3 separate regions of the Homo sapiens genome follow, and regions 2 and 3 are each linked to region 1. The links are contacts of gene promoters, found by promoter capture Hi-C in blood cells and fetal thymus (Javierre and others, 2016). All regions are on one chromosome and are shown on one strand. The core of a region is centred on a gene start or on the middle of the fragment in contact, and the rest is flanking DNA. Distances in the headings are between cores, read along the strand shown. Region 1 holds the start of ITGB7 (integrin subunit beta 7). Region 2 holds the start of ATP5MC2 (ATP synthase membrane subunit c locus 2). Region 3 overlaps PCBP2 (poly(rC) binding protein 2).

Region 1 (3,662 bases), core at 760-3,259:
TGGTGCAATCATGGCTCACTGCTGCCTTGACCTTGCCGGCTCAATTGATCCTTCCACCTCAGCCTCCCGAGTAGCTGGTACTACAGGCGCATGCTACCATGTCTGGCTAATTATTTTTGTATTATTTTGCAGAGATGGGGCTTCCCCATGTTGCCCAGGCTGGTCTAGAACTCCTGAGCTCAAGCGACCCACCTGCCTCGGCCTCCCAAATTGCCGTGATTACAGGCGTGAGCCATCACCCCCAGCCAAATGTCATGTATTTATCATTTCACACGTCTGCAACTGAATCTGTAGGATAAATCCCTAGCAGAGGACGTGCAGGATAACTAGATAGGTATCATTTGTAATACTGGTGTGTATTTCATCTACATTCTCATGCTAAGAAATATATATATATAGGTGGGTATTGCCAACATAAACTCTTCAGGACTTGTACTGGTCCACATTCCCATCAGCAATGTATGAGAAAGGCCAACTAACTCCTTGTCATAAACCATTTGCATCTTCTTCAGCCTGGGCCCAGAGTCAGGTCCAGATACTCTGCACAGAGTGTGGGAAAGGGGTGGGGTGTTGAGTCCTTGAATGTCCTGGTCCTGCTCCCCACCACCTGTGACCTCAGGCGCCATATATAACGGAGCCTCCACCCCTCGGGGAGAGGCCAGTCCCAGCTCAGCCTCAGCGTAACCTCAGCCCTGCTTGCTCTGCATGCCTGTGGTCAGGGAGGCTGGAGATGCTGCAACCCAAAGCCGGGTTTTGACTCATCTCTCACAAGTGGAGCCCCGGCTGCCGCATAGGTTTTTCAGAGACCTTAGGCCCACTCATCTCCCCTTAAAGGGGGCCCTGGGACTTCCTGGACAGCCCTTTCCTACCTTTCTTTCCAATTATCCTCTCTTCTCCCCTCCTTGAGAATACATGTTCTGCCACCTATTTCTCTGTCTGCTTCTCTGTCTCTCTCTGGCTCCTTTCATTTCAAAACTTCTATTGCATCTCTCTGCTGCTTTTCTCTGCTCCACTTCTTCATAGGGCTATTTTACTTCCTTTTCCCCTCTGTTCCTAACTATAGAATGGCTGAATCTACTACTCCATCCCACTCTTTTTACAAATGGAAACCTAAATTCCATGAGGCCAGGGTCACCCAGTGAACTAGGGGCAGGGCAGGACAGGGCAGGGCCAGGCCTCTGCTGTGCTTTCTCCTTTCCTCCCTCCAACCCAGGCACTATCTCCATCAAAAGTTGTGTTCTCTCCCCACTAGCCCTGGTGGGCTCTGCCTAATCCCATTTCTCTTTCCTTAGGGGTATTCTGCAGTCTTCCCTTCTCTCTCTGGGACCAAGTGGTTATTTCCATTTTTCTGGACTCCATTCTGACTCCAGTACACACCCTGTGACCCCCCTCAGCAGCTGAGAAACAGAGCCTCTTCCAAACCCATCCCTACCTTCCAAATCAAGCAGAACCCTCTGCTGCCCACTGGGAGTCACAAGGAGGGGACGGAACTGAGCTGCTGGGCCTCAGTGTCCCAGGACAGTGGAGTCTGTGACCAAGGTGCCGATTAGGAAGAAGTCTGAGCTGAAGGCAGAGCATTAGGGATAGCAGCTGGGGGTGATGTTGGAAGAACCCTCCCTCAGTATAATCGGTATACCTGCCCTACTTCGGTATAGTCCTTGGCACATGGCAGGCACTCAGATGACAGCACTCATATACATCCCTGCCTCCAGACCCACTCATGGGAAACTGATGCAGGAGAGATTGGGCTTTTGGAGAGGTGGAGGTGGGGGTACTGTGAAACTGGAGGAGGGAACCAGGTCAGGGGATCTTAGGAATGCAGAAAGGAGTTCAGAGCCTTTCTCAAGTCTGGACAGGACCCTCGGTATCCAGGTCAGAGCCCTCTTCCCAAGAGGTTGGGACCAGGTGGGCCAGAGCTTGTAAGGAGAGGAGGCAGAAGGGCTGGTGCCCTGGTACTCACAGGTGCGTGCAGAGCAGTCCTTCCTCTGGCGGCAGCAGCAGCCTTTGTGTACTGATCTGGGAGACGGCAGAGGAGGAAGTGACACTCCCCAGGGTGGGGAAGATTTGGGGTTGGTGGGGGTGACTGATCTAGAAGGTGGTGCAGATAGGGGTGGGGCTGAGCCAAGGGAGTGGACAATACAGAGATCTGGAAGAAAGAAGCCCATTTATTGAACCCCTGTCATGTGTTGAACGTAACATATTACAATTAACCCTCACAACAATCTCATAAGATAGGGGTTAATATTCCCCCAAGCCCCAATTTTACAGATGCAGAGATTGAGGCTTGGAAGCAGGAAATAAAGAATTTTGCCCAAGGTCCCACAGCTAGTAAGTAGCTAGTCTAGGATTTAAAAAAAAAAAAGAAAAAAGATTTTTATTTTAAATTTTTATTATTTTATTTTTTTTATTTTAATTTAATTTAACTTTTGAGACAGGGTCTTGCTCTGTTTCCCAGGCACAATCTCAGCTCACTGTCCCATGGCACAATCTCAGCTCACTGCAAACTCCGCCTCCCAGGTTCAAGCGATTCTCCTGCCTCAGCCTCCCGAATAGCTGGGATTACAGGGGTGCACTACCATGCCCAGCAACGTTTTATATTCTTAATAGAGACGGGGTTTCACCATGTTGGCCAGGCTGGTCTCAAACTCTTGACCTCAATTGATCTGCCCACCTCGGCCTCCCAAAGTGCTGGGATTACAGGTGTGGGCCACCATGCCCAGCCTGTTTTTTATTTTTGAGACAGGGTCTTGCTGTGTTGCCCAGGCTGGTCTGTAACTCCTGGACTCAAGCAATCCTCCCACTTTGGCCTCCTGAGTAGCTGGGATTACAGGCACACTCGGCTGGTCTGGGATTTAAATCCAGGTCTGCCTGCCTCCAAAATTCATGATCTCTCCATTTACTTATATAGGAAGGAACATGATAGGAGGGAATAGGGGCAGTAAGTACTGTAGAGAGGCCAGAAATTACAGACTTGTTCATTTTGAAAACCCAGGATACATTATATAAGTGTGCTTGACTACATAGGCTCTGGAGCCAAGTTGCTAGAGTTCAAATCCTGGCTCTACTACTTACTAGTAGTAAGGAGCTTAGCTGAGTTACTTAAACCTGCCTGCAGCTGTTTTCTCATCTGTCCAGCAAGACTCACAGGATTGTCGTGAGAATTAAAAGAGATAATTCATATCAATTGCCTACAAGACTACCTGGCACATACTAAGTAAGGGCTTGATAAGAGAATTAGTAGGGATGAGAAGTAGCAGAGGTGAGAAGTGAAGAGGCTTTGAGAAATTCAAGGTCCACACAACTGGAAACTTGGAAGAGAGAGGCATAGGGCCAGGCTCAGAGCATGTGATTGGGGAACCAGGAGCCAACACAGTAGTGGATCCTGGGAAAGGGGTGGAGGAGGTGAACTGGGAGAAGCAGAGAGTGCAGGAACAACAGCTGAAGCCAAGGCAAGGATGAAGCCCGTAGGGAGAGCAGGAAAATATTAATGGGATTTGCTCCTGGCCCATACAGATCACTAAGAGCTTTGAGAGGGAACTAGACATGAGGTCTGTGTTCACAGGTCGATCTCCCCTACCAGAAGGAGCACTCCTTGTAGGCAGGGACTGGCTCTACAAGGCTTCCCTGCTGGAGCCACCACACCTAGCCAAGTGCCCATCTTA
Region 2 (3,662 bases), core at 439-2,938, 470 kb after region 1:
ACAAGTTTCCCAGATGATTATTAGGTATACTTAACGCAAGAGCGTGACCCTAAACCCAGTCTTGAAACTGTGGTAGTGGTAGAGGATAGACTTGAACTTGGATCTTTTAAGTTACATGCTTTCTAATATGTCACAGGCTGAAATACTCAGTGAATGCTTAGGGCTATTAAATACCACTTCATTAAATGAACTGAACTCAGATTGTCCCAGGTTAAAACACTTCTGAATCCAACATCTTAATTGCTCTTAATTTATTTTTTGCCCAGGCTATTGTGGAACTCCTGGCATCAAAAGATCTTCCCACCTTGGCCTCCCAGTGTTGGGATTACAGGTGTGAGCCACCACACCCAGCCTTAATTACTTTTAAGTTAATGGATGTCTTCAACTCTTGTCCTATCTAGAACTCTGATTTTTGCCTATATGTAACTCTAACCCAATTTTGCTGCCGTACTATTCAGGTTTTCTTGGGTCAAAATCCAATAGTTCTTTAAGGCTTTTAGAAAAAGAAGGGGTGGTTCTTTTCTAAGGGAATTATACCTTATTATCTTCTTTGTAAAATGCAGCTCTTAGGGGGATTAAGTATGTTCATTTACAAATTAACATACATAAAGAGTTTAATGTGGTGCTGGCATATAATAAACCCACAACAAGGGGTGGCAATTAAGTGATCCCACCATTGGCTATCTAACCATGGCAACTCTGCAATTGTTAGCCTACAACTTGGGCAAAGGCACTATCCAGAATCAGGACTCCAAAATCATCACGGGCTTTTTCCTCAGTGTAGATGAGTCACAGGGGTAGTAACTTAACTATTCCTTTCCTTAAACCTTCTTTTCCTTGTAACAGCAGAATCTGGGGAGGTTAATTAATCCTTCACAGGAAAGCTGGCAGGCAGGGTCTCATGCTGGCCCCACTAGCTTGGCCTTACCCCACCTTTCTGGGCCTGCTGCCTCAACAGAAACCCTCATCTCTAGCCCACCATTTGTGACTTTTACAACTTCACCAGCGTGCCGGGATGCGAGAAAGGTACTGGTAAATAACTAGTGATTCCAAAGCAACCAGCCTCTCTCTTCTGCCTTAGCTATCCCAAGCCACAACCTAACGGGAGGCGATGTTTTGGCTTTTTTTCCCACTTCTACCATGTTCAAGGTTTACTTTTTAAATTGAGGGGTGCTGACTAGAGGGATTGGTGACTTTAGACGATCCACTATCTCCATTGCTCGGAGCACCTGAGGTTCTGGGGCCTAAAGTCTGGAGATTTCAGAATAAAGAAGGCACAAGTCAGGATGAGAAGAGAAAGCAGAGATAGGAGGGGAGAGCCTGGGGGTTGTCACAATCTGAAAGGGCCAGAGGGCGAGAAAAGAGTGTTTGCAGGGACTGGGTGGAACAGGTGAAAAGCAGCACTCCAGGATCTAACTTTGGCCAGCTCCAAGGTATCCTCCCCCTGCGAGACATCCAAGATGGCGCCAGGCCCGCGCGGTTGGAGGTCACCGGCACGCGGAAGAGCCAACTCTAAGGCTAAGGGATAGCGGAAGCAAGAAAGGGCGAGAGGACCAGGGTGGGAGCACGCAAGGTAAGCGCCTCAAAGCATCCGCGCAAGGTGAGGTGTCCCGCGCGCGTGCGCAGCGCACAGAGGGCTCTAGGTCCCAAGGCCTTACCTGCTCCCACTGCAGAGAAGACAGAGAGGGGCGGAGCAGCGGGAAGAGCGAAAGGAAGGCTCAGCGCATGCGTGACCCGGGCCAACGAGTCGCTCAGCCACGGATAGAGTGATTGCAACATACAGGATCAGCTCAGGCATCACAGCGCCGCCTGCCAGGGCTGTGGCGGTATCCGGCCGGTTGCTCCACCTGGCGTTCGAGAGGAGAAACTACAGGGAGCGCCGACTGCAGAAATGAGGCCAACTCCGCGGAGTAAGCCGATCCGTAACGTGGACTGCGGTTTGGTCTGTACCGCGTTTGGGATCTCGGACTTGCGTCCCCTTTCCGAGCATGCGCAGTCGTCACACTGCCAAAACAAAACTCCTACTCAGAATTCAGTGTTAACATACGGTCGGGATTGGGGTTCAGTGCCTAAAATGCAGCAGGAGGAAGATCTTGGGAGTCCTGCTTTCTGTCGCGCCGGGACTCTGGCATCACTGGATGGCAAACCGGCTCCATGGGCGAATAGTCAGCAAAATGCCGCAGCTGCTTCTGGTGGCTTCGCCCTTTCCCCCACTCCCCGTTTCCTCCTTTCCATTCCGGTGATAAACCATGAGAGAAGCAGCATCAGCGAGCCAGAAGATAGGGTTAAATATGATCCGAATCCCTCTTTCCTGGCTCCTGGGACAGTCTAGGAATAACGGGCACCTGCGACCCGCTGTAAGGTTGCGAGGTCACTCCAGGCTTGCCCGAGCCTCTGCTCAGGTTTCAACTACGCGAGTTGGGATAAGCAGCGCCCTCCCCTCCCGCCCCCATGCTCTCCTGAACGTGGGTTTTCTCTCCCCTTTCGCTCGCCCTTCCCCTGATGGAAGGAGGTGGGGGAGGCTTCCTGGCCCTCATCTTTCCTAGGCCTCCTTGTCTCCCAGACAGGACCTGCCCTGCCCTTTGGAACAGGGCGACAAGGCCTATCCAGTTCCAAACCCCTGCCGTCCCTGCATCGTGCTTGAACGCAGCACGAGAAAGACGGGAAAAGCTCACCAAACCCCATAAAAAATAAAAAATAAAAAGAAAGCCGCGGCTGTAAATAAAGGCAAATCCGCCACTCTCTGAGGGGCCGTTTGTCCTCCCCTCCTTGGCCCCGTCCTTCCCGCCGCCCCCTCCCGGCTCCCGGGCCCCGCGGCGCCCCGGCCCCGAGCTCCTCCATTTAATCGGATTTGGGAGAAGGGGAGGATAAATCACGGCAGCAGCTTTACGGTCCCGGAGGAGAGGCGAGCCGCAGACAGGCACACCCCGGCCGGCGATAAAAACCGCCGCTGAAAGCCCACGGAGCAATTTCCCGGGACCCCGAGCGACGCCATTACAGGAATGTAATTTTGCCCGGATGAGGCCCCGAGTTTAATTATCCTCGCGGAGGAATTTCAATGCGGCCAATCCATCTTGCAGGCGGGCGGCAGAGGGATTTATATGGGCCCGTTATTTCACACCGATCCTCCATCTGCATTTTTATGGCCCTGAGCTCCTGAAAGGGAGGGGAAGGAGTGGGGAGAAATAGGAGAAGCGGGCGAGAAGAGGAGGGTGGTAGACTGCCTGTCTTTCCTAAATTCGCATTTCCAGCTCCATCAGGATTCTCACAGGTTCCTCTGAAATCCCCAAATCTCCAGTTTTAGTTGTTGATTGCGCCCCGAGCGGGCAGGTACGTGGGAAATGGAACTGGGATCTTTGGGAATCAATCAACAGGTATTTATCAAGTACCAAGTGGTGCCAGGCACTGTGGAGATGCTGTTAGGAGAAAGACAGGCTAGCAAAGACACAAGTTTATCCCCTGAGGTCTCCAGACATCTCCATTCCCACCAAAACGGAATTCTTTTAAGCTGTCAGCTTCACATCCTCAGTGGCAGAGAAAGTCCACAGTTCTTAGGAGCCACCACCCCCAAACGGCTGTTGCAGCTGTTGCGACAATTTAGACACTCAGATATGGCTAACAATCCCAGAGGAGGATCAGAGAAGGGGCCTGGGAGGAAGCTA
Region 3 (3,662 bases), core at 832-3,331, 270 kb after region 1:
CCATTTATTCTGGAAACACCCATTTTTCTCACACTGCATGTGTGTTTTATTCAGAGCTTGTGGGAATGTGGGAAGCACAGGTATTGGAATGTTTCGGAAGTGTGAAGTGTGTTTTCTATCTCACTCCTCCCCCAATCTCATCCCTTAATGACTTCCTGAGGGTTTTATTTCCCTTATCCATAGCTAGGTAGTGTTACTACTCTCAATTTTAGGACACTGTTCACAGTCAAATGGGATCCTACAGTCATTTATATTACTTGCTTTCTCAACTCATGGGCTGAAGTCACACCCTTAATTGCTTACTAATATTTCAAAGCATTGTTAGCCTTGAGGCCCTTAGGTCTCTTTTAATAGGGAATGTTGTCTAGTTATCATTTACCTTTCTTATAAGTGTTTAATCTCTTTGTCATAAAAGTTTTACATGAGTTCCTGAATCTAGTACAGGGGAAAGGAATTCCTAAGTATGTGGTCTGTATTGTGCTTGTACTGACCATGTATATATGCTATGGTTATTTAGTGCTAGCTAAGAACATACCATTTCCCCAGTAGCAGTCTGACTTTTGCCTTAAGACTTCATATCTTGAGGTGCTACTACTCTTTGTGTAGAAAAGCTTTCCCTTTCCTAGATTTGTTTTCTTGTCCACCCACCAAGCACACTAGGTCCTTAATGTTGAGAATGAAATGGTAGTAGTAAACTTTTGCACCAAGGTTGTTTGCAAAGAGGTCTTTTTCTTTTTTAGAGATAGGGTTTCATGTTGGTCAGGCTCGTCTCCAACTCCTGACCTCAAGTGATATGCCTCCCAAAGTGCTGGGATTACAAGAATTGTTTTTCTTTCTTTTTTTTTTTTTTGAGACGGAGTCTTGCTCTGTCACCAGGCTGGAGTGCAGTGGCTCCATCTCGGCTCACTGCAACCTCTGCCTCCTGGGCTCAAGTGATTCTCCTGCCTCAGCCTCCCAAGTAGCTGGGACTTACAGGCACGTGCCACCACGTCCAGCTAATTTTTGTATTTTTAGTATAGACGGGGTTTCACCATGTTGGCAAGGATGGCCTCGATCTTTTGACCTTGTCATCCACCTGCCTCGGCCTCCCAAAGTGCTGGGATTACAGGCGTGAGCCACTATGCCCAGCTTGTTTTTCTTATTTGTAATTAGGATTTTGGAGGGCAAGAAGTTTTCAGTTTTCAGTGGCAAGAATCAGGTTTTTGAAAGCTGGAATTTGTTTTGTTCTTTCGATAGGCTTGCCCTTCATGTAATTTAAATTGTGACTGTTTAAATGTGACCTGCTTGCCTAGCTCCTGCAATAGGTCAGTGGCTACATTGTAAGGAAGCAGAATTCTCTTGGTAGAGTGGCTCTTTTCAGGATCATTGTTACTGAATAGCAATTCGGTATCTTAGCCATGGATTAGGGTCAAAACTTTTCAAAGCTTCATCTAACACCAAAGCAAAGATTATGCATGCACAAAGCTTATTCTTTCTCAACTTGGTGCAGTTTAAATGCAGAAGTCAAAGGGTTTTTTTTTTTTTCCTTTCTCATTTTTTTTAAGTCAAGAAGGATTTTACTGGATTCTGAGCATTTTCTCCTGTCTCTTGATTTTTCATGGTGGCAGTCTGTCCTTTTATATAGTTAGTTGACTTCTGTATCCCTTTCCTTTATGGATTGCAGCTGTCCTTGGACATAGGTAAATAAAATGAGGTTTTAAGAGGAGCCTTTCTGCTCTTGAAGACTTAGCGTTGTGGGCTCAATTGTCCAGGCACACTTCCCAAATATATGTAGTTCTGGCTTAGACACATACAGGCATTTGGGAGACATGTACCCTTACTGTTCTGTGGAGCTTATTTTGGGAGTGGAAGCAGCAGCATTTTCGCTTAAGTATGAATTTTTAGGTGATACTTGAGTTTCTCTTTTCCACTTCTGAAAGGTCCACATTAGAAGTATGATCAGTCAGAAACAACTTTTTATACCACCTCCCACCAGAAAAGCTTCCCTAGTTCTTATCTACACTTCTGTTCTCAGCATTTTTCTTTGAAAACGCTACATTCTTTGAAATTTGAAATTAGTCAGTGACCTACTTTGGACTCTTGTCTCTTTCCACCCTGATACTGGTTTGTTTGCTGTGGAGATGTAAGCAGACTTTAATACATAGCTGGAAGGATTTTTAAAAATTCTGCTTTATAAATATTCAAAGCTTCACAAGTAATTGTGGGATAATTGATTTTCTGTTAGAATAGGAAATTGACATTTGATTAGAGGAAACATTTCTTCCTTGTTGGGTGATTGATGAGTATCTTTTTCTACCCGAAATCATTCCTTCAACATCTGGGTTGGGTCAGTGTGTCAGATACATGAAGTATGTGCCCTATGATTTCTTTTCTCTGTCAGCTTTTTCTTCACCATAGCAGTTTTTAAGTAGCTCTGTGGAATGGAAATATACATATTTAGAGGGTGGGACATAGGCTAAAAGAAAGCTTGTCACAAGTTGACACTAGGTCTTCCTAATTGTCAACCAGAGGCACTTACTGATATAACTGAAGCAGTTTTTGTCCTGTACTTACTCCCTTTTGTGGTCTTCCCTTCCACCCACCCTTTTTTTTTGTTCCTTTTTTCCTCTGTTACAGTTTAGAAAACGCTAAACCCTCCTCCCAGGCAGCCTCCGTCACGATCCCTGATCACCTCAGCATCAACCTCTCTCAACCCTCCACCCCTTCTTCTTCTTCCTCCTCCACCACCACCCCCTCGCTCGCCACAGCGGGGACCTCCGACGCACCCTCCAGCCTCCCCAACCCTCTTCCGACCGCCCCTTGTGTCTCCAGTCTGCTTGGCATGAAACCCATCCCTCTCCTGGCTCTAAATGTTGTGTCTGCTGCTAAGGGTACCGGGGCTTCAGCTACCACCACCACCACCTCTGCCGTGCCATGTGTAACTAACAAACTGAAAGGCGAGAAACAGAGATTCTCTCCCTACTGATTGCATACCTTGAGGCACCTCCTCCAGTATTATTTTGTTCATTTTGTTTTCCTTTGTTAACATTGGTGAGAATGAAACTATTGTGAGCTTGTTACCGTTTCCTTTTTACTACTTTGGGGGATAACTGGGTGGGGGTGGGGGAGTGGTAACCCTTGTTTAGGTTTAGGCCATTTCAGCTGAGTGCCTGTTTCAGGGTCTGACTTGAATTCTTTATCTAGAGCCACAGTTTTCTCTTCTTTCTTGTTTGTTACTTTTCTTTGTAGCTTTATTCTGCCTTGCAATATAACAATGTGTTAGGCTCTGTGTTAATGAATAAAAGCTGCTTCGTTAACTTTTTTTTTTTTTTTTAAGAATTATTTAATGGTTAAGCTATCAGCAGGCCTTCTTGGCCATATTTGTGTTTCTAGCTGTAATAAAGTTGGCGCAGTAAGAACCTTAGTACACTGTGTGCTGTGAAGGGTAAAGGGTTGGGGGCTTGTGACTTGTGGCTATTCAGCTAGGAAGCCTGTATAACTGACATGGGCTTTTTGAATCCCAAGTGAATTTTATAGTCGTTTGTCAATATTTCCACAAAGAGATAACGAGTCTGTGGCAGTTTAGATCCTGAAGGTCCTCTGTAATTGGCAACAAGCTTCACTAGTGAGGAAGTTTATCTGACTTCTCAGATGGCCTTACCTTGCCAGCAGCAGCTAACAAG

What was found. Contacts are between HindIII fragments. The CHiCAGO score rates a contact against its expected background, and 5 or more counts as called.
Region 2: a contact is called between the fragment with the promoter of ATP5MC2 here and the fragment with the promoter of ITGB7 in region 1, in 1 of 17 cell types (neutrophils). The highest score is 6.0, in neutrophils.
Region 3: a contact is called between a fragment that was not itself captured here and the fragment with the promoter of ITGB7 in region 1, in 2 of 17 cell types (fetal thymus and total B cells). The highest score is 5.6, in fetal thymus.

Annotation. Positions count from the first base shown.
Region 1 is chr12:53,205,242-53,208,903 of GRCh38, forward strand. It overlaps ITGB7 (integrin subunit beta 7), which reads right to left and starts at 2,010. Exons shown (of 16, transcript NM_000889.3): 1 at 1,961-2,010. RefSeq lists an enhancer at 50-139. The HindIII fragment of the contact is 16,923 bases long and covers 1-3,662 here.
Region 2 is chr12:53,674,395-53,678,056 of GRCh38, forward strand. ATP5MC2 (ATP synthase membrane subunit c locus 2) reads right to left here and starts at 1,689. Exons shown (of 5, transcript NM_005176.7): 1 at 1,659-1,689. RefSeq lists enhancers at 1,391-1,840, 1,951-2,180. The HindIII fragment of the contact is 5,549 bases long and covers 1-3,662 here.
Region 3 is chr12:53,472,253-53,475,914 of GRCh38, forward strand. The region is part of intron 14 of PCBP2 (poly(rC) binding protein 2); the gene reads left to right. Among named protein-coding and RNA genes, the nearest start is that of PCBP2-OT1, 9.6 kb to the left of the region's middle. The HindIII fragment of the contact is 206 bases long and covers 1,979-2,184 here.